Regions from separate parts of the Homo sapiens genome. Here regions 1, 2, 3, 5 and 6 are each linked to region 4. The links are contacts of gene promoters, found by promoter capture Hi-C in blood cells and fetal thymus (Javierre and others, 2016). All regions are on one chromosome and are shown on one strand. Each heading gives the region's core, a stretch centred on a gene start or on the middle of the fragment in contact. The rest is flanking DNA. Distances are from core to core; before and after follow the strand shown. Region 1 overlaps DIRC3 (disrupted in renal carcinoma 3). Region 2 overlaps DIRC3 (disrupted in renal carcinoma 3). Region 3 overlaps DIRC3 (disrupted in renal carcinoma 3). Region 4 holds the start of TESHL (testicular germ cell expressed HSF2 interacting lncRNA). Region 5 overlaps DIRC3 (disrupted in renal carcinoma 3). Region 6 overlaps DIRC3 (disrupted in renal carcinoma 3).

Region 1 (4,697 bases), core at 1,893-4,392, 620 kb before region 4:
TGACTTTCACAAAAACAGTGGTTACTAGACCTCAGGTTATTGGCAAGAAGTAAATACAAGGCGTGACAATGCATCTGAACAAAGTTAGAATTTGTTGGCTGTGGTGAAATCTGAGGGCAAAATCAAGCTCCCATCTTGTTCCCCTGACTAAAGCCACTGAAAATAGTTCCTCATTGTGGTTTCTGAGATCCAAAGAAAAGACAGCTCCAAGTGGTTTATTACACAAGGTTCAGAAGGCTTATGGGCATCCAATGGTTCCCACCAAGTTGGATTTTGATGGGTTAAATGTGGGCAAATCAGAAACATAAGAATTAAATTTCCTTTCCAATACACATGGGTTTTAAGTGAAGGGAAAAAGGTGCTTCGGGCACAATGCATTTATTTGCCAAGCCCCAAACATTCAAAAAATGGTTCAATATGTCCCAGTACATCCAGCCAGCTGCCCAGTCTCCCCTCTTTCTGGAAGTGATTGTCTACATATGCACACTGATAGGTGCACAGAAAGTGATGTTATATCTTCTGCAATTTAAGTTTTTGACCATCTAGTCTCTGATACAGATTATTCTAAATTCTCAGATGATGTAGCGATGGAGGTATAGTGGTCTTTCCCCAAAAATATGACACAAAGCTTCCTCAACCCCTTACCCAATGTCTGGTCAAATACATGTCCTCATGACATGAAGGAGATTTTGTATTTACCAAGAGCCAATGTCTCAAATATTTAGGTCAAAATCATTTACTTTGTTGCCTGTTTACATGTGGTAGCATATTAATGACAAATTTTTGATTTTAGTCGAGACCAACAAATGGTGAAAATGTGGCTCAGTTTCTCTGGAATCTAAATGAATTAGGCTAAAGAGAGGGGAAGAAAGGGGAACAAGAATATAAGTCAGGAGGCTGCTTTGGACATCTGGGGGTAAAGAAATGGAAGAAAGGAGGAATGGGAGAAATGGGCAAAATAGGCTATGAAACTAAAGGAAAGATGGAATCTTAAGGAACCTTTGCAACATGGAATCAACCTAAATGCCCATTAATGATAAACTGGATGAAGAAATTGTGGTACATATATTAATACACCATGGAATACTATGCAGCCATAGAAAAGAACCAGATCATGTCCTTTGCAGGGACATGGATGGAGCTGGAAGCCATTATCCTTAGCAAATTAATGCAGCAACAGAAAACCAAATACCACATGTTCTCACTTATAAGTGAGAACTAAATGATAAGAAGAACACATAGACAGAGGAACAACACATATTGGGATCTATCAAACTCCCATCTTGCTCCCCTGACTAAAGTCACTGATAATAGTTCCTCATTGTGGTTTCTGAGATCTAAAGAAAAGACAGCCCCAAGTAGTTTATTATACAAGGTTCAGAAGGCTTATGGGCATCCAATGGTTCCCACCTTGTCGGATTGAGGGTGAATGGAGGGTGGGAGGAGGGAGAGGATCAGGAAAAATAACTAATGGGTACTAGGTTTTATACTGGGGTGATGAAATAATCTGTACAACAAACCCCTATGACATAAGTTTACCTATGTAATAAACCTGTACATATACCCCCGAACCTAAAATAAAAGTTAAAAACAAAAACAAACAAACAACAACAACAAAAAAAGAAAACTTTTCTGAGTCTACATGTCCTGTGGAAACCAGATGGGAACAAATGGTTCTACCAATCTAATTTGTTTGGGCTAATTTGGGTGAGGAAAAGTAAGGACGGGAATTTATTGTTCCTTTTTCAGGTGGATTGACAGGCTAAGTATGGTGTATCCCAAGCAACAAACTGATTACATCTGAATCTACTGTGGTCATTCTTGCCCACTCCCTGTGGTGTTGGCAGAGTTTAGCTATGAAGAATATGGGACTAAAGGAGGGAGAAGATGCTTTCAAGTTGATGCTGGCAACTGGGCAAATTGAGGTGTCATTGCAGGAGATGGAGAAAGGGGGTGAGATTATGATAGACAAAGAGGATGTCTTGAAGAATACTATCAACTCCACAGATTTATTTTGGAGTTGTATAAATATTGGTACTAGTTTTAAAAATTGTTGTAATTTAAGTCATATAAATAGATGAAGTAGCCTAAATCTATATTTTGCTTTTTAAGAATAGTACAACTCTCTTGCTATAATTAGGGTAGTGTAGATAAAATCTCAGAAAATTACATTTTTATGGCTACCTTTATCTCTATGTTTCTGCCTCCCTTGGAATGTTACTCCCTTCTGTTTCTTGTGATTTCCTTTAACTTCCATCTATTCACTGAAACATGAAGTATGCTTCTTTAAAAAATTTTAATAAAAAAGTATGCTTCTTTTAAAATTTAATGACAAAACATTTATACGAGGCCTGCTTCTCCCTCAGATTTTCATAAAATCTTCTACATATAGAGGGTATTTGAGGATATCTCTTTGCTGTTAATATTAAGGTCTAAGCTTTACTTTGTAGGCCAAAGGCTCAGCCATAGCTTTAAGACGACTACTTAAATAAGACCTGATTAAGTTCCTTAATGAGAAGCTGTTTTCTTCCCATGTCTCTCTCCAAATAGGGGAAAAGGGGGTGGGATTGCCACTGTTCTAGTCACAGAAATTAATGCAGATGGATATGTATTAAACTCAAGTGATGCTGTGGCTAAGGGGTGAGGAAAGAACAAGAACTGAAGAAGTCAGAGGACATTAGTGAAAAGAGAGGATAATTGGAAAAGACGAATGGTGGAGGTTAGGATGGCATAACTTTCAAGAAGGAGGTGAGCACCAGGGCATCAGGTACTGTGACGAATAGCATGAGAGAAATAGAATCCCAGAGGTCTTTGGTAGACATACCAGTGTCCGCACAGCTCATTCCACATGTTGCTTTCCAATGAATAGGTGTCCATCTGGGAGAGGCCAAAGCTGGAGTGTGATAGGTGAGTGTCCGTAAAACTCAGAGGTGAAAAGTGATTGCTACCATCACCTCCATTCTGAATGATAAAATAGGCAATAAATTTGTTAGGCTGGGAAATGATGCCAAACTGAAAGGCTGGAAAAAGGAAAAGGTAACAGGAATAGATGACTCAATTATAAAAATGTTTGGGATTAAAAAAAAATAAGGCAAGGGCTTGGTGGTCCATTGGGATAGAAAATCAAACTAAGTTCCTCAAACATCCCAAATATTCCTCGTCTGATCAAAGTGCAATGACAAAGCATTCATTAAGCCCCAAAAATGTACCAGAAGCTGTATTAGGTGCTGTCAAATATGATAATTTAACTCATGATTGAAACAAGTCTATAAGAAAGGTTTTATGATTTTTCTGTTTGACAGTTGAGGAAGTTGAGCGTCTGAAACTTGTGACTTCCCCAAGATAACACAGGCTATGAATGTCAGAGCTGGAGCTGGAATGTGGAGTGTATGAGTCCAAACCCTGTTTCTCAACCACATGACACTTCTACTCTTTTGTGTAAAGGACATTTCTGTCGTGCTACTAAAGAATAATGAGCTTTTCAGGAAGAGAGAAAATCAGAGGACTGGACATATGAAAATTCCTACAGTGGCTTAGGGCTGCTTATTTTTCTCAAGACCATTATTTCTGAGTTTTATTATTGGTTTTCATACCGTTTAACTGTATAACCATAGACAAATCATGTAGCAATTGAGGTCTCTGTTTTTTGGTCTATAAAATGAAAGGATTGAACTGGCCCTTGAGCCCTTGACACTCTGACATATCTGCAAGGGTCTCTAGAGTTGCTCTGATCTGCCACCTTTGAGTCTGTGGTGTTTTAGAGGGAAGAAACCAGAAGACAAAGGACGGACAGGAGCCCAGACTTGTCCCTGGGACAACTGGGCAGTGAGTGAGTTAGTGAAGCTTTATTCCTCATTTCCTCTTTGACTCTTCAAGTCCCTATTGTGCATCCATACCCAGGGGTCCTTGTCAGTTACCCCTCAGTTCATTCCCCCAAAAGTTTGTCCACATGAGTTTAAAATGTTACCTTTTCCCTGGAGCATTTACTCTTTAACAGTTGACTTTAATGAGTAGAGATTAAAAAATTTTTTTTAAAAAGTGAATGGATTTTTTAAATGCCAGTTCCACTACCGTGTTTAACAATGGAATTGGAACTTCAGAAGAAGATGGAGTCATTGGAAAAAGACCAGATCTTAGTCTGAACTGGAGGCAGATGAGGAAGCCCCGGAGCCTGCTGGGAGCACCTGCTAAAGGGCTACTGGTTGGAATACAGCTTTACCATGCTATCAGCTGTGGCTCATGACTACTCTGCCTTGTGTATTCCTCATCTGCTGGGGCTTCCACACCTAGCAGGTCATTGGAAATGAAAGGGGTAGATGGGGTAGATGGGATAGATGTGCAGTCAGTCCAATTAGCTCCAGATCCTGGTTGTGCTACTTACTATTTGTGTAATCTTTTCGAGTTACTTTGCAACTCTCAGCCTTAGTTTTCTCATCTGTCAAATGGGAGTGAGTCAGATGATTTTATAAAGCACTCAGCATCATGTTTGCCATGTGCAAAGCATATAGGGGAGTGGTTAAAAGCAGAGTCTGGGGCCAGAAAACCTCCTCATTTATTAGTAAGTTGCTTAAACTCCCTGTGCCTCAGTTTCCTCACCTGAAAATATGGCGAGTAAAGACACTAACCCATGAAGTTGTCAAGATTAAATGTGTTAAAATGTGTAAAGTGGTTAGTTAGAACAGTGCCTGCAAATGGTA
Region 2 (4,420 bases), core at 1,859-4,358, 840 kb before region 4:
TACAATGAGGTGGGCAGGAGCCAGGGCTGTTCTGTTTTCTAGAACCTTCTAAATCCTGGCTTTAGAGTCACAAGCAAGAGACGCTAAGGCAGGCTCCTCGGAGGGCAGGTTGGAAGATGGTTGGTGTCAGGACAAGAGGAAGATTCGGGCCAGACACCAAGAAAGGCCTGCGCTGTTTGAAGACAGAGCAGATTACTGAGGGTGGTTGCAGCACCCCCCCAATCCCTGTTTCTACTTGGAGAGGGCTTGCACTGCGTGGAGGCACGGGAATGGATCTGTGACCCTGGGCAGTCGGAATTAACCTGACCTGGCCAGCCGAGGTGCCTTCTCACAGACACCCTGCAGAGGGCAGTGTGGTACTGCGGGCAGGACTTTGTTGCCTCATCAACTTTTCTTTCCACCCTGCGGCCCTCCTAATCTTTTAAAATCAAAGCTGCTTAGACACAACCTGAGCGCTGCTTGAATGACATGGATTTAGCCTGGTGCTCTGGGCCCCCTTTGCTGAGGGAAGCCCTCCAGCCTTGGATGTGCTCAGAGAGCTTACCTAACTCTCCCCTCTGCCTGCTTCCAGGCCTTGGGGACAACAGCTAAAAGTGGCTGTGTAGATGGGCAGAATTTGGTTGTACATATGTAGAGCCTCAGGATTTTCAAAACACATTTTCATCTGCTCCTTGAACCCATTCTTAGAGGTGGATGGGATGCTCCGTTTTATAAGAGAGAATTGAGACCCAAAGAGAGGGGAAGTGACAGCTCACGGGGGCCCAGCTGATTCGAGGCAGAGACACGTGGGGGACCCTGGTCTTCTAACCCTCAGTCCAGTGCTCATTCTACCCCTTGCGAAGCCCCTGAAATGCAACCGGTGTCAGTCCCCTCCACCAGCCGACCTCCCCCTCTTTGTGGTTCTGTTTTCTCCCAGGTGAGGGGGGGTGAAGATGCCTCTGCTACTCCTAGATCCTTGAGCCACTCCCTGGCCAACTGTATGATCTCTGGTAAGTCCCCTCGCTGGGATTTGCTTTTCCTACCAGAACAATGAAGTTATTGGATCAGATGATCTCGAAGGTAGCTTGGAACCTTGACCTTTCCTGGTTCCATGTTTGGGCTGTGTCCCCAGTTACAAGTTATTTGGTCGAATTGAAGAATAGAACCTTGCAGGGTGGTGGGTGACAGATGCAAACTCCAGCTGTGAATCTGACCAGACTCTGTGCATTGAGCTGGTTGTTTTCATGTGGAGGGTGCAACCTTGTTCCCCAGGACTTGAGAGAGTCAGGTCAAACCACATGAGGACATTCTGCTTGCTGACAAATGGCATAGACGGTGGTGTCAGTGGATGTGAGTGACAGTCGTCAACTGTGCCCCACAGAGCTCCACACTGAGAGGCCGGTTGTCGGATGCTGGGGGGACAGTGCACTCTTCCAGGGCTGTGCTTCCTGCTCCATCTCCCTAGCAGCCCTTTGTATCCCCGGCAGTTGGGAGTCGGCACGAGCTCTGTTTCTGTGCTGGTTGCCTCAGCAGGTCTGCTGTTTTCCAGGAGGAGTGCATAGGAAAAAGAAAGAGCCAAACCCTTCAAGGCACACCCAGGGTCACAATTACAAGATATACTTTGGATGTGTGGGATGGGGAGGAGTGGAAGGACAGAGCAACATAGACAGAGCCTGAAAGTCAGAATTCCTTTTTGACATCATCAACCACCATTCATTGAGCACTGAGCATGTGCTAGGTACTATGTACCCACAACTGGGTACAACTCTTAATAATCTCATTTTACAGATGATGACATTGAGGCCCAGAGAAACTGTGTAACTAGTCCAAGATGGCACAGCTCAACAGAGGTAGAGTAGTGATGGCTAAGTGCACACCCTTAATTCCTCCTCTAGGCTCTATCCATCTCCCTGACTGAATTATCATCTTTATTATCTCACAAGAAATTAGGCATACCGCCTTAAAAGTAAGACTATGCTCATGAGTAAACTGAGGAAGAACATCTGCCATCTGTACTGTTCCCAGAAATCTGGGAGATGATCTGTTTTTCTTTCTATCTATCTATCTATCTATCTATCTATCTATCTATCTATCTATCTATCTATCTGCCATCTCTGAGTCTTCTCCAGGTATCCCACCAAGTAGGAAGTTGGCTATGATTTCCACATCCATACTCTTACATGTTCTTCTACGAAGTTCTGCAGAGTAGCAAGGGCTGGTGGTGTATTCCTGAGATGAGAAAGTAGAGACCCGGCAAAGGCTAGTGATTTACTCAAGGCCCCAGAGCTGGTTGGTGACTGGCCTAGAACAAGAACCCAGGTTTCCTGACTCCTGGTCATAGTGTCCTATTCACCATGAAAAGACTTCTGGGAAAAGAGATCTGACTTGGCCAGGGAGACCTGGGGATGCTGGCTTCCCAGCCATAGTGATCCTTGCCTGCAGGTGCTTTGAGTTCCTGGGGTTTCTGTGCTAATCTGTGCCCGGAGGCCCAGCCCTGCCAGGATCAGCCGAGGATTTGAGTCCTAATGCAGGTTCGGATGGGAGATTTTGTGGGATTCATCCTACATTTAAGGCCTGGTGTGGGTAGCCAGGGGCTTTCCCATAGAAACCACAGCTATGTACTGTGTCAGGGCTAACAGTCCAGGGGGAGTGCAAAGCTTTGTGCTGCAAACCAGATCTGCTCACCAAGCCATTGCTGCAGCCCTGCTGTCCTGGGGCAGCTGGAGACAGGGAGAGCCCATGGCAGGGAGCCTCTGGTGAAGGCTTAATGGCATTTGCATGGGGTTTCATACCACACAGGCATGGAGTGGCTTAGATTTCTGAGAAACCGTTCCACCCTGTCTGGATGGCTTAAGGGAAGCCTTTGCTGGAGGAAGGGACCTTGACACATGATTTTTAGAGAATTTTTTCTACTTAGGTTATTGCTTCCTCCCCCTAGTTTTGCTTTTCTGCTTAAAAAACTGGCATGGTTAAATGCCTGTAACGTAAAACTTCAACTCTTTACCTTGACAATAAGTTTACCTTCTTAGCTCATCTTTGCTACTCTCTTCCTCTGGCCCTGTCCTTTCTCTTGTTTCTATTTTCCTAACCCTATTGAACAATTGTGTAATCTTGTGTAAATCCCTTGTGTTACAGCCTGTAGTTGTTAGACAGAGCATAGATTTTCAACAGATCTGAGTTTGAATCTCAGCAGGCAGTCTCCAGCCTGATGTGTGAACTTGGCCAAGTCACTCAATCTTTCTGAACCTTGATTTATTGTTCTATAAAATGGGAGTAATGACATCTAACTCTCCTAGGTGTTATGGAGGTCTAAGGGGGACCTGTAAGTTCTTAGAAAAGTAGAGAGTCTCTGAATTTGTTGGAATGAGGAAGTTGAGTGAGGAAGAGTGAATCTATTGAATATGGAGAAGAGATTCTGAGCTTGACTTTAGTCACCAAGTAATTGAGTTCCTGTAATGTGATGTGTGAATCTGTGGATTAGGAGATGTGGCTTTGGGACATCTGTGGTCCATGCCTGTCCTGGAGTGTGAGTTTGAATGCATGGTGATGATGGCAGTTGGTGTAAATGTGTGGGATAAAAGGAGCTATCTGACAAGCTTCCCCAGAAGAAGGGATCTGGTGTGACTCAAGCACCTTAGGCAGCAGGAAGCTGGAGGGTGAGTGTGTGATGTGAGATGGCCTGAGAAAGGCCTGCTAGGCTGGAGAATGGATTGCATGGCATTTATCTTTGTGGGAGTAGAGATGGTGTTTCATGGTCTTTTAAATGAAATTTGAGAAGGTGGGGGATGCCGGGAGATGGAGTGCTTTGAAGCTCCACCAGTAGAAGGTCTCATTTAGGCTGAAAGAGGCTTTGGCTAAAGACAGAAAATTCAACATAGTATGGGGAGAGCAGGTTAGTGGGGAGGTATGTGAGATGACACCACTGTGGCACAGCCAGAACTTGAATCAGTGTCCAAAGGAATTTCCTCTACCAGAGTAGTTCTTCCAGTTTTTGCTTGTAAGAGCTCACCCACCTCGGAGAACATCTCAAATGGCATATTCGTTTAAGTTTTTCATTGCTTTGATGGTTCAGACAGCAGCCCTCAAGCCAACATTCCAGACTCTACTCAGCCTTAACAAACATTTAGTACTAGATGGTCTGTGTCTCCATGTCACACCCCTCTGATTCCTGCTGCCCAGGCAGATGGGCCACTGGAAGCAATGGAGAGGCCACTGTGGATGTGAGCACCACAGGGTTGTCAGAACACCATGGGTACAGCAGGGTGGAGGGAGGCTTCTGGCAAAGCCCAGCCAGGAACAAGTTTTCTTGTCCTCAGCAACATCTGGTGGCCATGACCTTCCCATAGCCTCCTGGTGGAAAGCTGCCATGGAAAGGAGGAGACCAAATGATCGGTGTCTTGCATTTGCATCCTGTGTCTCTACATGATCTTCATGATTTCTA
Region 3 (4,065 bases), core at 1,253-3,752, 710 kb before region 4:
AGACGTTCCCTAGACTCCTGAGAAGGAGAAGACACAAGGCCCTGGCACTCTTGCTTCAGAAGACGAAGGGTTTGCTTTAGGACATGACCCAAGTGACATGAGGGAAGTTGGAAGTTCTCAAAAAGAGGATGCTCAATCTGAAAAAATATGAGGCTTTGAATTTTCTTCTCCCTTCTCTGGGGACAAAAACTTGGCCACACCTCATAACTCTTATGGCCTCAGCCTTTCCTCCTTTCCTTTTTAGCCCAGCCTCCCCTGCATCTGATCTGCCTCCTAAAGGCATCCATTCCTAGTTTGGATGTCTAGACCCATGCCTACCCCTTACTCCCAATTCTGGAGGCTTATGTATAGATTCCAAATCTTGATGGTGGTTAGAATTTGGAATTTGGGGATTTTTTTTTCTGCTTTGATTTATCTTTATATGCATCCAGTATCTCTGAGTGCAATTCCAAGTATCTTTGAATACTTACTAATTACTATCTAAGGTGGTCTATAGGGCATCATGAGGAAAAGCTTCATACAGAGTTCAAAGCCTGAAGCCATGAAGGAAAGAGTCCAGAGTGTCTACACAGTACATTTACTCATTCAATAAACGTTATGGAGTACTATCATACTTCTGGCCTTGTTGAAGTTTAGCAATAAACTATAAAGGAGGTTCCATTCTAGCCAGAGAAGAAAGACAATAAACAAATCAATAACTAGATAATATGTCAAATGATAAAAATGAAGAAAACTAGAGCAGGGTATGGGAGACAGAGTGACAGGAGCAAGAGGATGGGGTGGGGGTCAGGAGATGTATCTGTGATTAGGTGACATGTGGCCAGAGAACTGAAGAAAGTGAGAGACAGACTGGACAGAAATCAAGGCAATGAGAGTTACAGGGAAATGGAAAAGGATGTGGAAAGACCAGACCTTGAGGCAGGGTCCTGCCTGGACTGCTTGTGTCTCTACAAGGAGCTGAGTATGACAGGATAGCAAGCTCCAAGAAGGCAAGGAACTTACCTTAGAGGGTTCAAAGAGAGACTCTAATGAAGGCACCACCTCAGAAAGTGAGGGCAGGGTGTCAGTGGAACAAAGAAGGAGTGTTGAGACACTCAGAGAGGGGCAGCAGGACGCTGTCACCTTTCCCAGGGCTGAGGGGGCAAGGACTCTGGGAAAGGGCCATGGGCATCCTGTGAGAGCTGAGTCAGGAAAGAGGGACTTCTTGGTGAGAACTGCAGCAAGGGAGGGGTGCCACCATTGCTAGAACCAGGCCGGGGAGCACAGCCGGCTCTTTCTCTTCTCCTACCAGTGCCTTTCAGCTGGCTGAACCCAACCATAGCCCAGCTAGAAATGCCATCCTTAAAGACCGGAGCACAGGGCTGGGCAGAAGGGCAGAGAATGAATCTGGGAGATGGGATGAGAGTGATCAGGGATTGCCTAGCACTGAGAACAAGAGGAAGAATGGCTACTTGGTATAAAGAGAAATAACCAGTAACTTTTAGTTTAGAGGCATTGATTCAGACTGCCAAGCCAGATCACGAAGCTGAAAGTCAATCCTCTTAGGTGTTTCTGTGAACAATCTGGGCAGGTAGCCTCTGCAGAGAAGGCTGAGTGGTCTGGTCTGTGAAGGTGAGGTGACTATTTGTATGGTCAACAGAACCAGGCTCCTGTCCCTCCTGTGCTTCCCATCTGGCTATGGAAACTGAGTTGCAGCATTGGGTTCCGTCCATCTTCCCCCAGTTCTCATTTTCCCACTTAAGAATTACGCATAGTTTTCTCATATGCCTAAGTTGCTTTCCTACAAGGCTCTTTGAGAAGAATGTAGTTCAGTTCAGTTCCAAGAGATAGCTTGGGATTTATTCTTAAATTTAGACAAGCTTGATCGTGAGGACGGGAGCTCTTAAAAAATGAGATTTTAGAGACAATGGGCAGTTCTACTCCAAGGCAGAAGCATGGAAGAGCTGCCTTGCAGAAGTCCTCACCCACCCAGAGAGTTGGTGACTCCCTGAGCAGTCTAATTCCCAGCCCAGATTTTGCCTGACATTTCCTCCAAATATAGCATCTCCCCAAAAGGTAGTGCTGCAGATGAAGGAGAGGCTTCCTTGGCAGCTGTCTCAGGTTCTCTGGAGAGACACTCTGGCAGGTCTCCAGGGATCCTGTGACTCCGGAGCTCATCCTGGGAGAGCCAGCTCAGCTTGCCGATCTCACAGCCCAACTCCCTCCAGGTCTGGTGCCCAATGGGCTGGAATGGTCATGGAGGGAAGGGAGTCTCTGTGGTTCGTGAGGTTTGCACTGTTTGGTTGCAGGGGAATGAGTAAAGTGATGTCAGGAATGAGAAAAAGGAAAAAGATGGGATGGCGCACTCTTCAAGACTTCTCCATCCTCAAGAAGGAAAGCAAACAGGTGGCCTCCTTGTGAGGGAAACTAGATCATGGTGCTCATAGATAGCTAATTGAGAATTTTGGGGTTCTGTGTAGGCAGTTTGGCTGTCAACATAGTAATACCCATGGAAACGGCTAACCCTCTTTTACCTTTTAAACATTTATAAAATTGAAAAATAAAATTGGTTTAACCCTTTCAGTGTTAGTTCCATTTGGAAAATCTCTTTGTAATAATCCCATGGGAATGGTTTAGAATATTCTGAAACAAATTATCTGCTGGGGTTTGGTGAGTTGAGCTGGTGGTGTGTGTCAAGAGCGGGTAGAAAGATCCCCTCTTTATTCTTGCAACTTTCTACAAGAGAGGAAGGATGTATATGGGGGTGAGAAACTGATGGCAGGTCTGTAAAAAAATCCCACATTCAGCCATGGGTTTCTTAAATGATGGTTTAGGTTTCTCAAAATAAATTTTAGAACCACCAAATGAAGACAGTGAGTTCTGAGTCCATTTATTTATTCCTGAACAAGAAATTTCTATGTCACTTTATCCAGTACCAGCTTTGCAATCTTCAGTGGAAACCTCTAAATTTCAGATGCCTTATCTGTAAAGTAGACCTAATAGTATTACCACACTGGGTGGTTATGAGGAATAAATGAGAAATGGCAACATAGGGTCCTTAATAAGTGTTTATAAAACAATAAGATGTGGGAATTGGGTCCTGTGCCAGAATCTCTCTGGGGAGATGGGCATGGGAAAATGTAAGGGAGGAAATAAGCAAGCTTTTTGGAACAAGCTCACACTCCTAATTTTTTTTCTTTCAAAACAGTGAATTAGAGGTCAAGGCTAAAGTGAAAGGGGATAGAAATAACTAGAAAGATGGATGAAAGATCTGCTACAGAAAACCAGGCACCACATTCATTGCAGCAAGGGAGGAAGAGTGACAATCAAGTTAGCTGTGGCTTTTACACCTCCAAAAACACTGTGACCAAGAGGATTTTTATTTCAAATGAACCATTTTGCTTAAAGACTTTTCTTTCATGAACAATTGTGGAGAAGTTGCCCAGATTTTCCCAAATGTGATATGATAATAAGGGGTATATACCAATACCCACAGTAAATCCTGTGTTAGGAAACTGCTAGTAAGAAACAAGAGAGGCAGCTCATAAGAGTCTCAATGGAGTTTTCTATTTTTAAATTTTTTTGGACTAAAGTTTTACTACTTAAAATTTTTTACTTTAAAATTTTCCAAACATATGTTGAAGTAGAAAGAATAGTTCAGGCAGGGTGCAGTGGCTCACACCTGTAATCCCAACATTTTGGGATGCCAAGGTGGGAAGATCACAAGGTCAGGAGTTTGAGACCAGCCTGGCCAACATGGTGAAACACCATCTCTACTAAAAATACAAAAATTAGCTGGGCGTGGTGGCAGGCACCTGTAATCCCAGCTACTCGGGAGGCTGAGGCAGGAGAATCGTTTGAACCCTGGAGGCGAAGGTAGCAGTAAGCCAAGATCATGCCATTGCACTCCAGCCTGGGCAACAGGGTGAGATTCCATCTCAAGAAAAAAGAAAAAAAAGAAAGAATAGTTCAATGAGCTTTCATATACCTAGTTTCCATAGTTACCAATTCATAGCCACTGTTGTATCTTGTATGTCACTTCTTCTCCCTCCCCATATTAACTGAATCAACCTCAGACATCATATC
Region 4 (4,591 bases), core at 536-3,035:
AATAAATTGCCACCTCTCCACACCCCTACACTGAGTAAGGCCAAATGTGACCACTGAAGAGCAAAAGCAATCATCAAAGAAACCCAAGAAGCTCATCAACATCTAGGAAATAGGACAAAACCCTGGGGCCCACCTAAGTCAGATGAACAATAAAAAGGCAGTTTCTGCATCTTTCATGTTCCAAAGGAAATAGAGAATTGAGTTTTGAGGCCCCAACCTTACAGATTAGCTTTGGTCTTGCTGGTAAATGGTTTTTAAAGATTGCATTTATGATTCTCAGGGGGAGGCAAGCTGTGAGTAAGAGATGATTTGGTACCTTTACATAAGTTATACAAGGTTCAAGTTTAATTACACAAGGGATTCTATAAAGCTGTAAGAATTATTTGATCCCAAATTGCCCAAACACTACGTTATATCTAGAGTATACTACCAGGAGAAGCTCGAGGATGTTGTCCTTTAAAGAATTCCAAATGCACATATGCCTTTGTAAGTGTACGTTGTGTCTTTGCACTTCCTCACATTTACAATTCCTGGACTTCATGATGGATGACCTGGGCTTGTTTCTAGGAAAACAAGCATCTTCATTTCTGCTAACAAATGAATGAGAAGTGTGAGCTGATGGTGATCTGGTGGTTCACCTGGCTCAGCCTGCACTGGCCTTGTTTAGACGGTCTATCAAACCAAATAAGCCCTTATCATATCCAGAAAGCATCTCAATTTATCCCAAACAAAAGCCCAACCATGAACATCATAGTAAATCTTTCAAACAGGAAAAAAAGGGTAAACTACATATTTCCTCCTGACTCACATGGTTCTCCCTCTGCTTACAACACCCATCTGATTACATGAAGGGCTAGGGTACTAAGGTCACTCAACGTCACTCTTCAGCTAAACAGTAACACTCAAAAACACCTTTGTCAGAGAAAGAAGAGAAAGTTTATTTAGAGACACTGGCGTGGAGAGGAATAATCAATGATGATTATGGTGGTCTTGGGCCTGCACCAAAAGCCCTTCTTTGTGCTGGCCCTGGGAGAACACATGGCACAGAAAAGCCCAGATTCAAGCAGCTTCTTCAACCAAAACATTGACATATTCTGCTGACTAAAGAGACAAATAAGAAAATTAAAGATGTACACTCCAAGAACCCACGTGTTTTTCATATAGGGACCTTCCCAACTCAGTTTCCCAGAGATTCCATCAAATACAGACCTTCAAAGAGTTTGAGAGTACCACCTCAAAGAGGTAGGTCCAGGGTTTGTGTGATCTCTCTTTACTGCATGGACAAGATTAGAGGGAGGCTCTACAGCACAAAGAAGACAAGCCATGAGCACAGAAAGCCTGGCTCTTCACAGGACTTGTGGGGAAGCAGGGAGAGAGTTGGGTGGTTGTTTTTTATTGGTGGGTGGGTGTCGGTGAGGGAAGGGATTGTTAGAGAAGTACTGGGGCCAGTCTTTAGAAGGTGAGAGGTGATCTTTGCTTTTGCCAGAGGCATGACAGTTTGGGAGATTGGCCAAGCATGGGTGACAATTCCTCAGTCCTGAGAGTCTCCTCTGTAATCAGAAAATGTCATCAATACCTTGTCCTCCCATTCCTTTTCAGAGATAATTTCCTTTCTTTTTGCCTCTGTGGGGAATATTTCAGATGACATGCTGAACACCTATACCTGCAGGCCTTCACCATCTTCTTCTGTTCCTCAACTCTGGTCAGCATGAGGTTTTGGTTGAAACAGCAAGATCTGCCTGCTCCTACTGTTGTCCCTCTCTCCTACCGCAGGTCCATTTGTCCAAAGCAGTCCACCCATCATTCCCTTTATATAGTGGCTTATGACACGGGCCCTCCTGGTAAAGGGACATGATGATTGATGGTGCCTTGTCACAATGGCTGAAAGTCAACATGAGAGCTTGGTTGAGTGGTTGGGGCAGTACTGAAATGTTGGATAAAATTAAGAAAATGCCTAGTAGGACTCCTTAAATCAGCTGGCTGCCTATCAGCCAGCCCATAGGAACCCCCAAGAATTACAGAAACCAAGCAAAATTCTCTATGCCTTTCAAACCCAAGTCTAGCTTTTTTTTTTTTTTAAAGAATAACCATTTATTAAAGTAGATACAGAACACTTGTTTGGCCAAATTTTAATACTGCTTTACATGTTTTGTTTGTGAAACAATTCGTATTACATTTATAACCAAAAATTTCAACTGGTAACATATTTAATATTCACTGTCAAACACACAGTTGATAATCTTGAGGGGAAAATACATGAAAGGCATATATACAATTATAGAAGCTCTTATTGTACATGTAGCATATTTTGATCTCCAAGTCTAGCATTTTTAAAGCCTTTGTCTGCTGACACATTTAGGCATACATTCCTGGTTTCATTGCCTTACTTCTAGAAAGAGATCTTGAGGGAGGATTTGAACAATGTACACTTTTTAAGTGAATTTATTGAAGTATAATTGATAAACAATAACCTGCACATATTTTAAGTGTACAATTTGATAAGTTTTGACCTAGGTATACACCCATAAACCATTACTACAAATCAAGATAAAAAGTACAATTAAAGCTCTAGTCCAGTTCATTTTTTAAATCTACTACCCCTGCCCTATCCCCTAGAGCCCCACAGAAATATAGCTTCAACTTCAAGAAGCTTGATATCTGGCCAGAGAAGCCATCTTCTACTGGTAGATATAAAATGTGACCAAATGAAGAAGTAACCATAGAGTATAGGGCCTTTGTTTTGAGTCTTGAAGCACATTTGGAAGTTTAATAGGTGAAGATGAAAAAAATAGTACAAATCACTGAATTTCCTATGAAGACCTGTACTTTTTCTACTTTTTAAATAACCCAGTTTGGTTAGAACAGAGGTTGCCTGAAGGAAATAATGAAGGACATGGCTAAAAAGCCAGGTTGGGGTTGGGGATGGGGATATGGAAATTGAAATGCTGTAGTCAAAATGTCTACATCTTGTTTCACTGGGCAGCAGTTTGCATGAAAAAAGAGACTCCAGCCACCTCCACAGTGATGTAGTCCAAAGGCTGATGAAGGGCTGCCACCTGGCATCATGGAAACATGGGCCTCATAAAGGGGGAAGAGCCCAACAACACACCTGGGCTTCAGGCCTAAGTAATGAAGCTCTGGGTGGTGCCAACCAGAAGGGTCAGGTTGGCAGGAAGGTCCCAAGAAATGTCGTCTCCTCTCTTCCTTAAAAGCCTGGTTTCAAACACACTTCCTGAACAAGGGCTGTAGTGATTCACCCACTTCAAGAAGGCCAACTTCATGTTGAGGCCATAGTGGGTGGAGGGGTGGAGGTGATCATCCAAGCATCCCCCAGTGTCCCTCTAATATCCCACCTCTTGCAGATGCCCAAGAGGCAGAGAATGCTACAGTTCTCTTGTCATTCTTTTAACATAAGACCTAAGGTTTTAATCCTGGGTAGGGCAACAAAGGCAGGAAAGAAGAGAAAGAAAGAGAAGGAGGTGGAGTTGTATTCAAACTACATATGTGATGCTGAGCTTAATGTATTCTAACTCTTCTCTGATTGTCAGGTGCTCTGCAGGAGTCACCTAAGGTAAGGACAGAGAAATGAGATGAGGTTCCCTCAAGCGGTCACACAGTGCCTGGCGCTTAGTAGGTCCCCTAAAAGTGCTCTGACCACCTCAAGTGTCGCAGCTTCCAGTTTTGCATGCCTTACTTTCAACCCCATTCTTTCCTGAGTTTTCTTCTGTTCTCTCGGTCTCCTTGCCCTGCTCTCTCCTCTGAAACACCCAATGGCTGATAAATCCCATAACTTTGTCTCTAGAGCATCTTACCTGCCCCTGGAGATTCAACCACACAAAACTCTACCTTGCCAGTGCCCAAAACTACATCCCCAGCCTCAATTGCTCTTCTGAGCTACAGATGCCTCTATCCAATTTGTCTACAGGGCATCCTTGGGGACCTCTCTGGTAGACATTCAACCTATGCAAAACTAAAACCAGTTTTTTTCTGTTCACATCTATTTCCTGCTCCTGCATCTACTCAGCAGTCATTCACTATTCACTTAGGACAGAAGACTAGGATTAAAACTTTACCCCTCCACATAAATCACGTCAGTATTTTATAACTTATCCCTTCTTCAACTCCATTGCTGGCTTGGGTTAAATGGCTTAATATCACTAAAGAACTTACCATATTGCAGGCACTTTCCTGCAATAGATAACAAGTTAGAATTCAAGTCTTTTGTTGATAGCTGTCTTTATGGTGAACATTAAGTCAAAGATATCACCCTCTGGGTAACTGACCGTCTTCCTCTGCATCCCTTCTGTGGCAGCAGTTAGAGCATACGCACTAAAATTAAGTAGATGTGGATCTAAATCCCAGCTCTACTGTTTAGTATTTGCACATCCTTGAGCTATTTCCTGAAGCTCTGAGCCAGTAAGGAGGTGATCTCCAACTAGGTGTTTAGTCTCCTCATTGGTAAGATAACAGGATTGCCATTAAGCCTGAGTCCTCTCTTTAACTTATTGAAGATTTTTAAGGCTGGGAGCAATATAATGATTTGCCCACATTTGGTAAGTTGAGAAACTTGGATCCAGAAAATCAGTCTGAC
Region 5 (4,588 bases), core at 1,849-4,348, 860 kb before region 4:
CTCCCAGGGCCTCCATAGGGAGAAGTGCCTTCTCTGCTCAGCCTTGACTTCAGAGGGGCCCAGGGTGGGAGTGGGAATGGAGGGCTCCATTTCTTACTTCATTCCTCCATAGTATATGGCTAAGTATTCAAGAATTATAAGCAAAGCTGCAAACTTGTATGTTCTTTCTTTCATCCTTGACAAAATACTGTTAACCAAACTGAAATGAAGCCAGGTAAGATGTAAGATATTGGCATTTATTTGGGGGGTCTTAGGAATTGTAATTTGGGAGACATAATACCTTTTATGACAACCTAGAAAATCAGCTTCTAAATTTAGAACTTCAGACTCTGCAGATACCTGAGCTGGAATATACTGGAGCAGGGAGGACTGTCCCTCGCCCCCGCCCACCCCTCTGCTCCTCCTACCCAAGCCCCCAATTTGAATCTAGAGTGTCTGTGTGCACACAAGGGTAGGAGTGGTGGTGGTGCCAGCTCTTGCAGCCCAGCCTTGCTGCCCCTTCAGTCTAGGGGTGTGTGTGTGTGTGTGTGTGTGTGTGTGTGTGTGTGTGTGTGCGCGCGCTAGAGGGGTGGTTGGCTCCAATCTTGCAGGGGGACACCCTGGGCAGAGGCCCAGACAGGAACCCAGAGTGTGTGGTTCAGAAGGAAGCCCTGAGCTTTGGTCTGGTATCTTCTCTTGGGCCTGTGAAATCCTTGCCCTGTGAAGAGCCCCAAGGCCAGAGGAAGGCCAGAGTGGGGCCTCTAAAGAATGGCCCAGTCCAGGAACCCCTGTTGTTTGGCTTTGAGGGAGGCGCTGTCCTCAGCCTCTGCTGTCTGGCTATCAATTTAGATCTGCTGACTCAGCTTATGAGGGGTTTGTTCATGTCTTAGGGCATGTGGCAGTGGTGGCCTTTTGTTACACATGATTGACTCCCACATCCTGGAATGGAATAGAACACATTGTTAAAACTATTGATGAGTGAAGTTGTAAAAAGCAAGTTGAAAAAGAGGCAAACTCCTAAGTACAATAAAGTAGCCTTTTCCCTAATATTGTTGGCAGATGGAAAATTGGTAATTTCATAATCAAAGCTTTATTAGGACATTTCTTGTGACATGTCCACTTAAGTTAAACCCTACAAGGATATGAATAACTCTCAAGTTTCATGCCAACTCTTATTACTTTGTAAATTGAGGAAAACACCATGAGTGCTGAGTGACGAAAGTTGTTGCTTTTTAATCCATACCAAGTTACTGGAACCAGAAAAATCCCTTAGTTTGTCATTCTAACACTCCCATCATCATTCTAAAATCTAAGCCTCCCTGCATCTTCCTCCCATACGGATGCAAAATGGAGAGAATACCAAGTTTCATGCTCAACTTTTTTCTTCTGGAAGAATTACTTTCTAGTTTCCTTAACCAGTTAATTCAACCATAATGACTGGGTACCTACCATGTGTCCAGCACCTGGCCGGTACTTAGAATGCAGTGGTGAATAAGACAGGTGTCCTTGCCCTCATGATGTTTACAGAACCATTTTTTAAATAACAGCAGTAAAATCCTTACTTTTCTGACAAACCACACATTTGAATTTAAACACAGAGAGGCTTTCTCTAGTAGCCAGGTTTCACTTTAGCAATATACTGGCATAAAAGGTTCTCAGAGGCTGCTGTCTGAAAGGATAAGTATCCCTGGGACCAAATCCTCTAGGCACTCGAGAAGCCAAGAGTGTCTATGCATCCCAGACAGGGGAGCAGACTTGACCACCAACTCACCCTGTCACTTGGAAAAAGTCATTTTCTGTCTCTGAGATGCAGTTTTCTGACCCGTGCAGCAGGATAGCTGGCCTAGATGATTCCCAAACTCCCCTTCCACCATGACATTTCAATGACAAACATTTTTAAAAATAGAAAATAAACAGTATTTTAAGCACAGGCCCTAAGTGACTTCATTGAGCTCACCTTGAACTGCCCCGCACCAGAAGCAGTTTGGCTCTTCCCTATCAGCCAACTCTGTCTGATCAGAATCTCCTGTTGTTTTTGAACTGGTTTGGAAACTGCAAGCAGGATGAATCCCAGCTGCTCATGCCCTTTGGGACTTCCCAGACCCCTCTGGCTGGAGAATGTAACCCAAGACTCTTGTTCTTGTATCTATGCCAGCCCTTGTCATACCGTAGTGGCCAATCTGTCTCCCACCAGATTAATCCATTTATTGCACCAATATTTATTGAGAGCTCGGTGGTGTCAGGCATTATTCTAGCTACAGTAGGGAATATAACAAAGCCCCTTTCTGCATGCAGCTTACATTCTAAAAGGAAGGGAGAAGAGGGAGAAATAAACCTGCACCCCCCCACCCATAATTTGATGTCATGAATGGTAAGTAGTATTATAAGGACTAGAGAAACAGAGTAAGGGGAACAGCATGAAGCAGAGTGCTGTTTTAGCTTGGATGATCAGGGAGGCCTTTTTGAGGAGCTGACTTTGGACATAGCCCTGAAAGAAACAAGGGCACGAGCCACGCTGCTCTCTGGAGGAAGAGTGGTTTAAGGAGGGAAAACAGCAGGAGCAAAGGCCCTGAGGTGGGAGCATGCTGCCTGGGCTCTAGAACAGCAAGATGGCCAGTGCAGTTGAAACTGGGAGCAGTGAAGGGGAGAATGGCGGGCAGGAGGCTGGAGGTCAGATCATGCCGGGGGAACAATGAGCATGGATTTTGTCTGAGGTGTGATGGGAAGTCTTTGGAGGATTTGAGGAAGGGAATAAATATGATCTGATTTGGGTTTTAAAAGGATCACCTGGTTGCTGTGTATAGAAGACACTGAAGTGAAACAAAGATGGAAAAGCAGGGGACCAGTTAGGACAGGGGACCCCAGTTCCCAAGCCATAGAGGTATCAGTCCATGGCCTATTAGGAACCAGGCCACAGAGCAGGAGGTGAGTGGGGGAGGGGGTGAGCAAACATTACCACCTGAGCACCACATCCTGTCAGATCAGTGGTGTCATTAGATTCTCATAGGAGCACAAACCCTACTGTGAACTGTGCATGTAAGGGACCTAGGTTTGTGCTCCTTATGAGAACCTAATGCCTGATGATGTGAGATGGAACAGTTTCTCCCCCTACCCCCACACCTGGTCCACCATGAAACTGGTCCCTGGTGCCACAAAGATTGGTGATATGGTTTGGCTGTGTCCCCACCCAAATATCATCTTGAATTGTAGTTCCCATAATCCCCATGTGTCACAAGAGGGACCCAGTAGGAGGTAATTGAATCACGGGGGAGGTTTCCCCCATGCTATTTTTGTGATAGTAAGTTGTCTTGAGATCTGATGGTTTTATAAGGGGCTTCCCCCTTTGCTCGGCTCTCATTCTTCTCTCTCCTGCTGCCTTCTGAAGAAAGATGTGTTTGCTTTCTCTTCTGCCATGATTTTAAGTTTCCTGAGGCCTCCTCAGCCCTGCAGAACTGTGAGTCAGTTAAATCTCTTTTCTTTATAAATTACCCAGTCTTGGGTATGTCCTTGTAGCAGCATGAAAAAGGATTAATACAGTTGGGGACCACTGAGTTAGGAGAGGATCATGGAGACTGGTGGGAGATGATGGCTTGGTTGAGGAGAAGGTGAGACGTACTTGGAATCAGGTATACGAATGCAGGCACAGACCATGCATTATTTGCCTGAGATGGGCTCTGGCCCAGAACAGATGCTCAGAAGAAGGGAAGATGAAAGTGGAGAGCTGTGGTCAGGGTTGAGAGAGGGAGAAAAGTGGAGAACACTGATACAGCTCTGGCAAGCCCACCTCTGAGGCTCTGTCTGCATTGCCTATACCTGTTTGTTTGCCCTTGATGTCTACATTCTACAAATACCTTGTTTTGGTTGAATCTTTTGTTGTTCAACCTGGCAGGCTTCTATTCCTGAACCTATTGTTTTGTCCCTATATGACCCCTTCCTGCTAAGAACAGCGCTGTCCTTTTGGGGCCTGCCCCTCCCACCCCATTGCTTTAATGTCTGCATCACCTCGGATTTGCTGGACCTTTCTTTTCTCTTAGGACCTCACTGCTTGCTCATGGAGACTGATCCTCTGTGTCTGCTGCCACAGTCACGCTGCTGCCCATGGGTTCCCTCCTGTGGGATGAGTTTTGAGCTCCAACATCACCTCTACTGCTTCTGCTGTGGCCAACCTGATCCAACCTGATCCTCAGATGCCTCCCCATTCTAGTCTCTGCTGAAGTGCCACACTGCTTTCCTTGCTTCTTTGATGCCTTTGGTAGGGACTGCCCCAAGATGCCAAGCAAGGCTACAGCCCAGCAACATGGGGAGATAGTGCCTCATGTAGAAAACTTTGACCTATGAAAGACAGGAGATGCGAGGGATCCAGCAGACAATTTTTTCTCTTTTCTTCTATGGGATGGAAGATTCTCAGGGGCAGTGATTATGCCTCGGATGTGTGAAGACATCCTCTGTGAATCAGAAACTGGCTGTGTCCCTTTGTGGAGCTGTGGGTAGCTTGGAAATGCATTCCTTGCATTCACCCCTTTCCTTTCTCTCTTGAGAGAGTGAGAAGTCTTTGCCTTGAGATTGTGCCTCCTAATAAGCCTTATCACTTAAGTGGTGACTCTGGCAC
Region 6 (4,503 bases), core at 1,314-3,813, 650 kb before region 4:
ATCTCCTATATTCCCACCAAGTCCTTGTGAATCTTTAGCTAACTTGGTTTCCCCAGGGGTGCAGATTTATATTCAGAACATTTAATGGCGAAGTCTTTAGGAAATAGAGGAAAAATTTATGTCATTTCTTTGAGGCCAAAGGCTTTTGGGGACTTGTTTGCTTTTTGGGCTTCTTTTATAGCTTTTTGGGTCTTCTTTGGCTAGAGACTAAGTGTTTTAAAAGGGTCCCAGTGAGATAGTTTTGACATCCTTGTCCTCTCCCTGCTCTACTTTGAGAAACACTGGATGGCTAAATGGAATCCCATCTATGCAGAGGAAAAATTAAGGCCCCTAATTTAGTTCTGGAGTTTGAAGATATCTTAAGATCATTTAATGCATGGTTTCTCAACCTCAGTACTGTTGACATTTTGGGCCTGTTGGACTTTTTATTGTGAGGGGCTGTCTTGTGCATTGTGAGGGTGTTTAGCTGCACCCCTGGCTGTACCCACTAGATACAGTATCACTCCCCAATTCATAACAATCAAACATGTCTCCAGATGTTGCCATATGTCCCTGGGACACAAAACCACCCCTGGTTGAGAATCACTGACCCACTCTCCCATCCAATCCAGAATTTTCCTTTAGCTTATCCACCATATGTGCTCTGACTGCTGCAGGGGCCTGACAATGCACCTCCTCCTTTCCAGCCTGTTTCCTGATATAGTCTAATCCCCATTTCATAGATGTTTCAGGAGAACAAAATAGCCATGTGTATAAAATGTCTGGCCTTTTGTTGTGCTTGATAACTGTATTCATTATATTGATCCCAAATCCCCCATCTTTAACTTTTCCTCCTTTGTCTAACACCTGAGTGCCATGCAGACTGTGTGCTCTTTGGATCTCCTGACAGCTTTGAATTCAGCCATTGAAGGCAGCTATCCCATCCTCATTTCTTCTCAGCAGACCAGGCTCCATAAACCTCGATTCCTTTTCAGTTCAGAGACAACACTTTTCAATTTAAGAGGAGATTGATCGCTGAGTTAGCGTGGAGCTGGGAAGAAATGAGATTTTAAGGTTAACACCTCGATGGGGGAGACGGAACTCCTAAAAAGTCCTTGCTAGAAAGAACTGCTCCTTCAGAGGTTGCAGCAATCACTGCAGAGAGGCTGGATGCTAAAAAGAAACCAAACTCCAAGAACATACGTTTCTGCAATGACACCCTAATCTGGCGCCCCATGAGGGGCAGGCTAGGAGACTGAGGCCACACTGCCCTTGACATCTCACTCTCACCAGTTGCCCATTTGGAAATAGTTCCTGACACTTTCCAGGAAGTATAAATGAGTCATGAGCCCTTGAACACAGAGATTTAAGAAGCCACCTGAACCCTCAGAACAGCCAGCGTTTGCTGAGTAGTTTTAAAAAAGCACTGGGTCTTACATTTAAGTCTTTAACCCATTTTGAGTTGATTTTTGTATGTGGTGAGAGATAGGGGTCTCGTTTCATTCTTCTACATGTAGATATTCAGTTTTACTAGAATAAAAGAGATGATTCTTTCCCCAATGTTTGTTCTTGGTGCCTTTGTCAAAAATCAGTTGGCTGTAAATGCCTGGATATATTTCTGGGTTCTGTATTCTATTCCATTGGTCTTTGTATCTGTTTTTATGCCAGTACCATGCTGGTTTGGTTTCTATAGTTTTTTAGTAGATATTGAAGTCAAGTGGTGTGATGCCTCCAGCTTTATTCTTTTTGCTTAAGGTTACATTGGCTATCCAGGGTCTTTTGTGGTTCCACACTAATCTTAGGATTTTTTTTTCTATTTCTATGAAGAAATCATTGGTATTTTGATAGGGAGTGAATTGAATTTGTAGCTCGCTTTGAGTAGTACAGACATTTTAACCCTATTAATTTTTCCAATGCATGAACACAGGATATCTTTCTATTTATTTGTGTCCTTTTTTTCTTTTTCTTTTTTTTTTTTTTTGGAGATGGAGCCTCGCTCTGTCGCCCAGGCTGGAGTGCAGTGGCGCAATCTCAGCTCACTGCAAGCTCCACCTCCCGGGTTCATGCCATTCTCCTGCCTCAGCCTCCTGAGTAGCTGGGACTGCAGGTGCCTGCCATCACGCCTGGCTAATTTTTTTGTATTTTTAGTAGATACAGGTTTTCACTGTGTTAGCCAGGATGATCTTGATCTCCTGACCTCATGATCCGCCCGCCTCGGCCTCCCAAAGTGCTGGGATTACAGGCGTGAGCCACCGTGCCTGGCCGTGTCCTTTTTTTTCATCAATATTTTATAGTTTCATTGTAGAGGTCTTTCACTTCCTGGGTTAAATTTATTCCTACTCTTTTTTTTGGTAGCTGTTGCAAATAAGATTGTTTTCTTAATTTTTTTTTTGGATAGTTTGCTGTTGGGGTTTAGAAACACTGTTGATTTTTGTGTGTTGACTTTGTATCCTGAAACTTTGATAAGTCTTTGAGGTGACAGATATGCTAATTACTCTGATTTTATCATTACACAATGTATACATGTATCAAAACATACTGTACCCCATAAATATATATGACTATTATATGTCAATTAAAAACAAAATAAAACTTTAAAAAATTTTGAAAACATAAAAGGAGGCTTGGTGTCAGGATGCCACCAGATATTCCTGTGGGGAGACTTTCTACATCCCTCCTTGCAGAGGCCAAAAGCTGAGCTGACCTCATATGCTCCCATATGAAAGCTGAATTGCTCTTGTCAATTTCATGCCTGGAATATGCAGGCCTCAGGAACTGCTGTCTTGTGTAAGGGGAGGAATTGTGAGTCAAAGTGCCAGGGATCCATCTAGCTGGTGCCAGAAAGATCCCCCAGCAGAGATGGCAGGCCTTATTTCTCCTTGGATCACGGAGGAGAAATTGGGTTGAAATGGCTCAAGTTTGAGAGGATGGTCTCCCAAAGTCCCACTAGAAGCAGACTGAGGTCATGGACGATGTTAAGACTTGTACAAGAGGCGGTCCTACCTCCTGTCCCCTGAGACAGGAGAGCCTGCCAGCCAAGGGGGTTAGACTTGATTGTTTACACACAGGGACCCTGAGTCTGGCCTAAGGCTCCCTGGAATTTACTCTTAGGCGGTCTCTTGATTTATAAGTCTAAATCACATTAAGTACCATTGTGAATCACCAGTGCCTGTCCCTGGCAAGGTTTTGAAGATAAGAGCTCCAAAATGGGAGGCTTCTCTGAGCCCAGGGAAGAACAGAACTGTTTTCTAAGTCTACGAAAAAGCATTAAACTGCTTTTTGGGCATCTCTGGGAGGTGTGGAGGAGAAGAGGGGATTTTCCAAGGTTTCTTCTTGCTATGATCTGACTTGAGGCACGAAGAAAGAGGAAAGATAAAAAAGGGTAAAGCCTATTGCAGTTTGGAGGTTCCCTATCAGGAATAGTTACTACTCCCTGTGGAAGGTCTTTGTTGTACTGGACACTCTTGAAACAAATGTGACCTTAATCTTTCCAGAAGTATTGAGTCTTTGGCTGGAAAGAATGTCCACCTGGGTTCTCTAGTTCAGTCTCCTGACTAAACTGCAATACTGTTAAGAAACTTCTCCTCAAGAGCCATTGGGTTTCAAGGGTCTTTAGACTTTGCAGGCGGGTATCTCATAACCTCAGATTAAGTCAGAGAGCCAAAGGAACTTGGAGATCAGTCAGCCCAATGTGGTCATTCTGAAGTTAGAAACCCTGAGGACTGGAGAAGTGATGTGACTTGCCTAAAACTACACATCAATTAGTGTCAGGGTCGGGACCATGATCCAGAAGTCTTTCCTCCTAGTCCCGAGCCATTTCAGAGACTCCTGTCATTCTCTCTAGTTCTACCAAACCTGTGTTTGCTGGGGATGTTTAATTGCTTTTGCAGTTTTCACTTTTTTTCCCTCTTCTAAACAGCTATCTTTATCCATGAGGGTGATAATGAGCCATGGGGAACAGTAATATCTATATTTTCCCCTTTTCCTTTAATAACATTTACTGAATTATTCATTATTAATGGTTAGTAATTCATTGTTGAATTATTAACATGTATTGAATTATATTTATTAATTTATTCACTCAACAGTAATCACTGAATATTTATTGAGCATCTTTTATGTGCTAGGGATGGTGCTAAAAGCTCAATGTCTATTACCACATTTCATCCTCAAAGTCACTCTAAGGTGTAGCTACTCTTTGTATCTCTAATTTACAGACAAGGACACTTGGAGAAGTGCTCTAACTGCCCAGGTTGCACCCAAGTTAAACCTGGATTTGAGTCTTATTTCTGCCATTTCTTTGCCTGGTACTTGATTTGATGATTATGTTGTACTAGCTCTCCTACTTGAGTTAAAATTAGCTCTAAGGTCATAAATGGGCTTAAGGACTTCTCTAAGATGATCATTTGCAGACTGGATACAATGTTTTGCAATGGCTATATTATCTCTCTTTCTGCAAGGACCTTCCTGCTGTTCTAATCCTCACATGGAAACTACCATGCCCATCTTCAACTGAGCCAGTTA

Evidence for each region. The method cuts DNA at HindIII sites, captures the fragments that hold promoters and counts their contacts. A CHiCAGO score of 5 or more calls a contact.
Region 1: a contact is called between a fragment that was not itself captured here and the fragment with the promoter of TESHL in region 4, in 2 of 17 cell types (endothelial precursors and megakaryocytes). The highest score is 7.5, in endothelial precursors.
Region 2: a contact is called between a fragment that was not itself captured here and the fragment with the promoter of TESHL in region 4, in 1 of 17 cell types (total CD4 T cells). The highest score is 5.5, in total CD4 T cells.
Region 3: a fragment that was not itself captured here is called in contact with the fragment with the promoter of TESHL in region 4 in 1 of 17 cell types (endothelial precursors); the score reaches 5.8 in endothelial precursors.
Region 5: a fragment that was not itself captured here is called in contact with the fragment with the promoter of TESHL in region 4 in 2 of 17 cell types (naive CD8 T cells and non-activated CD4 T cells); the score reaches 5.8 in naive CD8 T cells.
Region 6: a fragment that was not itself captured here is called in contact with the fragment with the promoter of TESHL in region 4 in 2 of 17 cell types (M2 macrophages and endothelial precursors); the score reaches 5.9 in M2 macrophages.

Annotation. Positions count from the first base shown.
Region 1 is chr2:217,490,158-217,494,854 of GRCh38, reverse strand. The region is part of intron 2 of DIRC3 (disrupted in renal carcinoma 3); the gene reads left to right. Among named protein-coding and RNA genes, the nearest start is that of DIRC3-AS1, 210 kb to the right of the region's middle. The HindIII fragment of the contact is 1,406 bases long and covers 2,440-3,845 here.
Region 2 is chr2:217,709,598-217,714,017 of GRCh38, reverse strand. All of the region lies in intron 2 of DIRC3 (disrupted in renal carcinoma 3), which reads left to right. Among named protein-coding and RNA genes, the nearest start is that of DIRC3, 79 kb to the left of the region's middle. RefSeq lists an enhancer at 244-293. The HindIII fragment of the contact is 939 bases long and covers 2,639-3,577 here.
Region 3 is chr2:217,583,606-217,587,670 of GRCh38, reverse strand. The region is part of intron 2 of DIRC3 (disrupted in renal carcinoma 3); the gene reads left to right. Among named protein-coding and RNA genes, the nearest start is that of DIRC3, 200 kb to the left of the region's middle. The HindIII fragment of the contact is 1,281 bases long and covers 1,862-3,142 here.
Region 4 is chr2:216,867,966-216,872,556 of GRCh38, reverse strand. It overlaps TESHL (testicular germ cell expressed HSF2 interacting lncRNA), which reads right to left and starts at 1,785. Exons shown (of 2, transcript NR_130782.1): 1 at 1,577-1,785; 2 at 918-1,101. The HindIII fragment of the contact is 5,034 bases long and covers 1-2,652 here.
Region 5 is chr2:217,733,551-217,738,138 of GRCh38, reverse strand. The region is part of intron 2 of DIRC3 (disrupted in renal carcinoma 3); the gene reads left to right. Among named protein-coding and RNA genes, the nearest start is that of DIRC3, 55 kb to the left of the region's middle. The HindIII fragment of the contact is 4,058 bases long and covers 1,070-4,588 here.
Region 6 is chr2:217,514,358-217,518,860 of GRCh38, reverse strand. All of the region lies in intron 2 of DIRC3 (disrupted in renal carcinoma 3), which reads left to right. Among named protein-coding and RNA genes, the nearest start is that of DIRC3-AS1, 230 kb to the right of the region's middle. The HindIII fragment of the contact is 9,357 bases long and covers 1-4,503 here.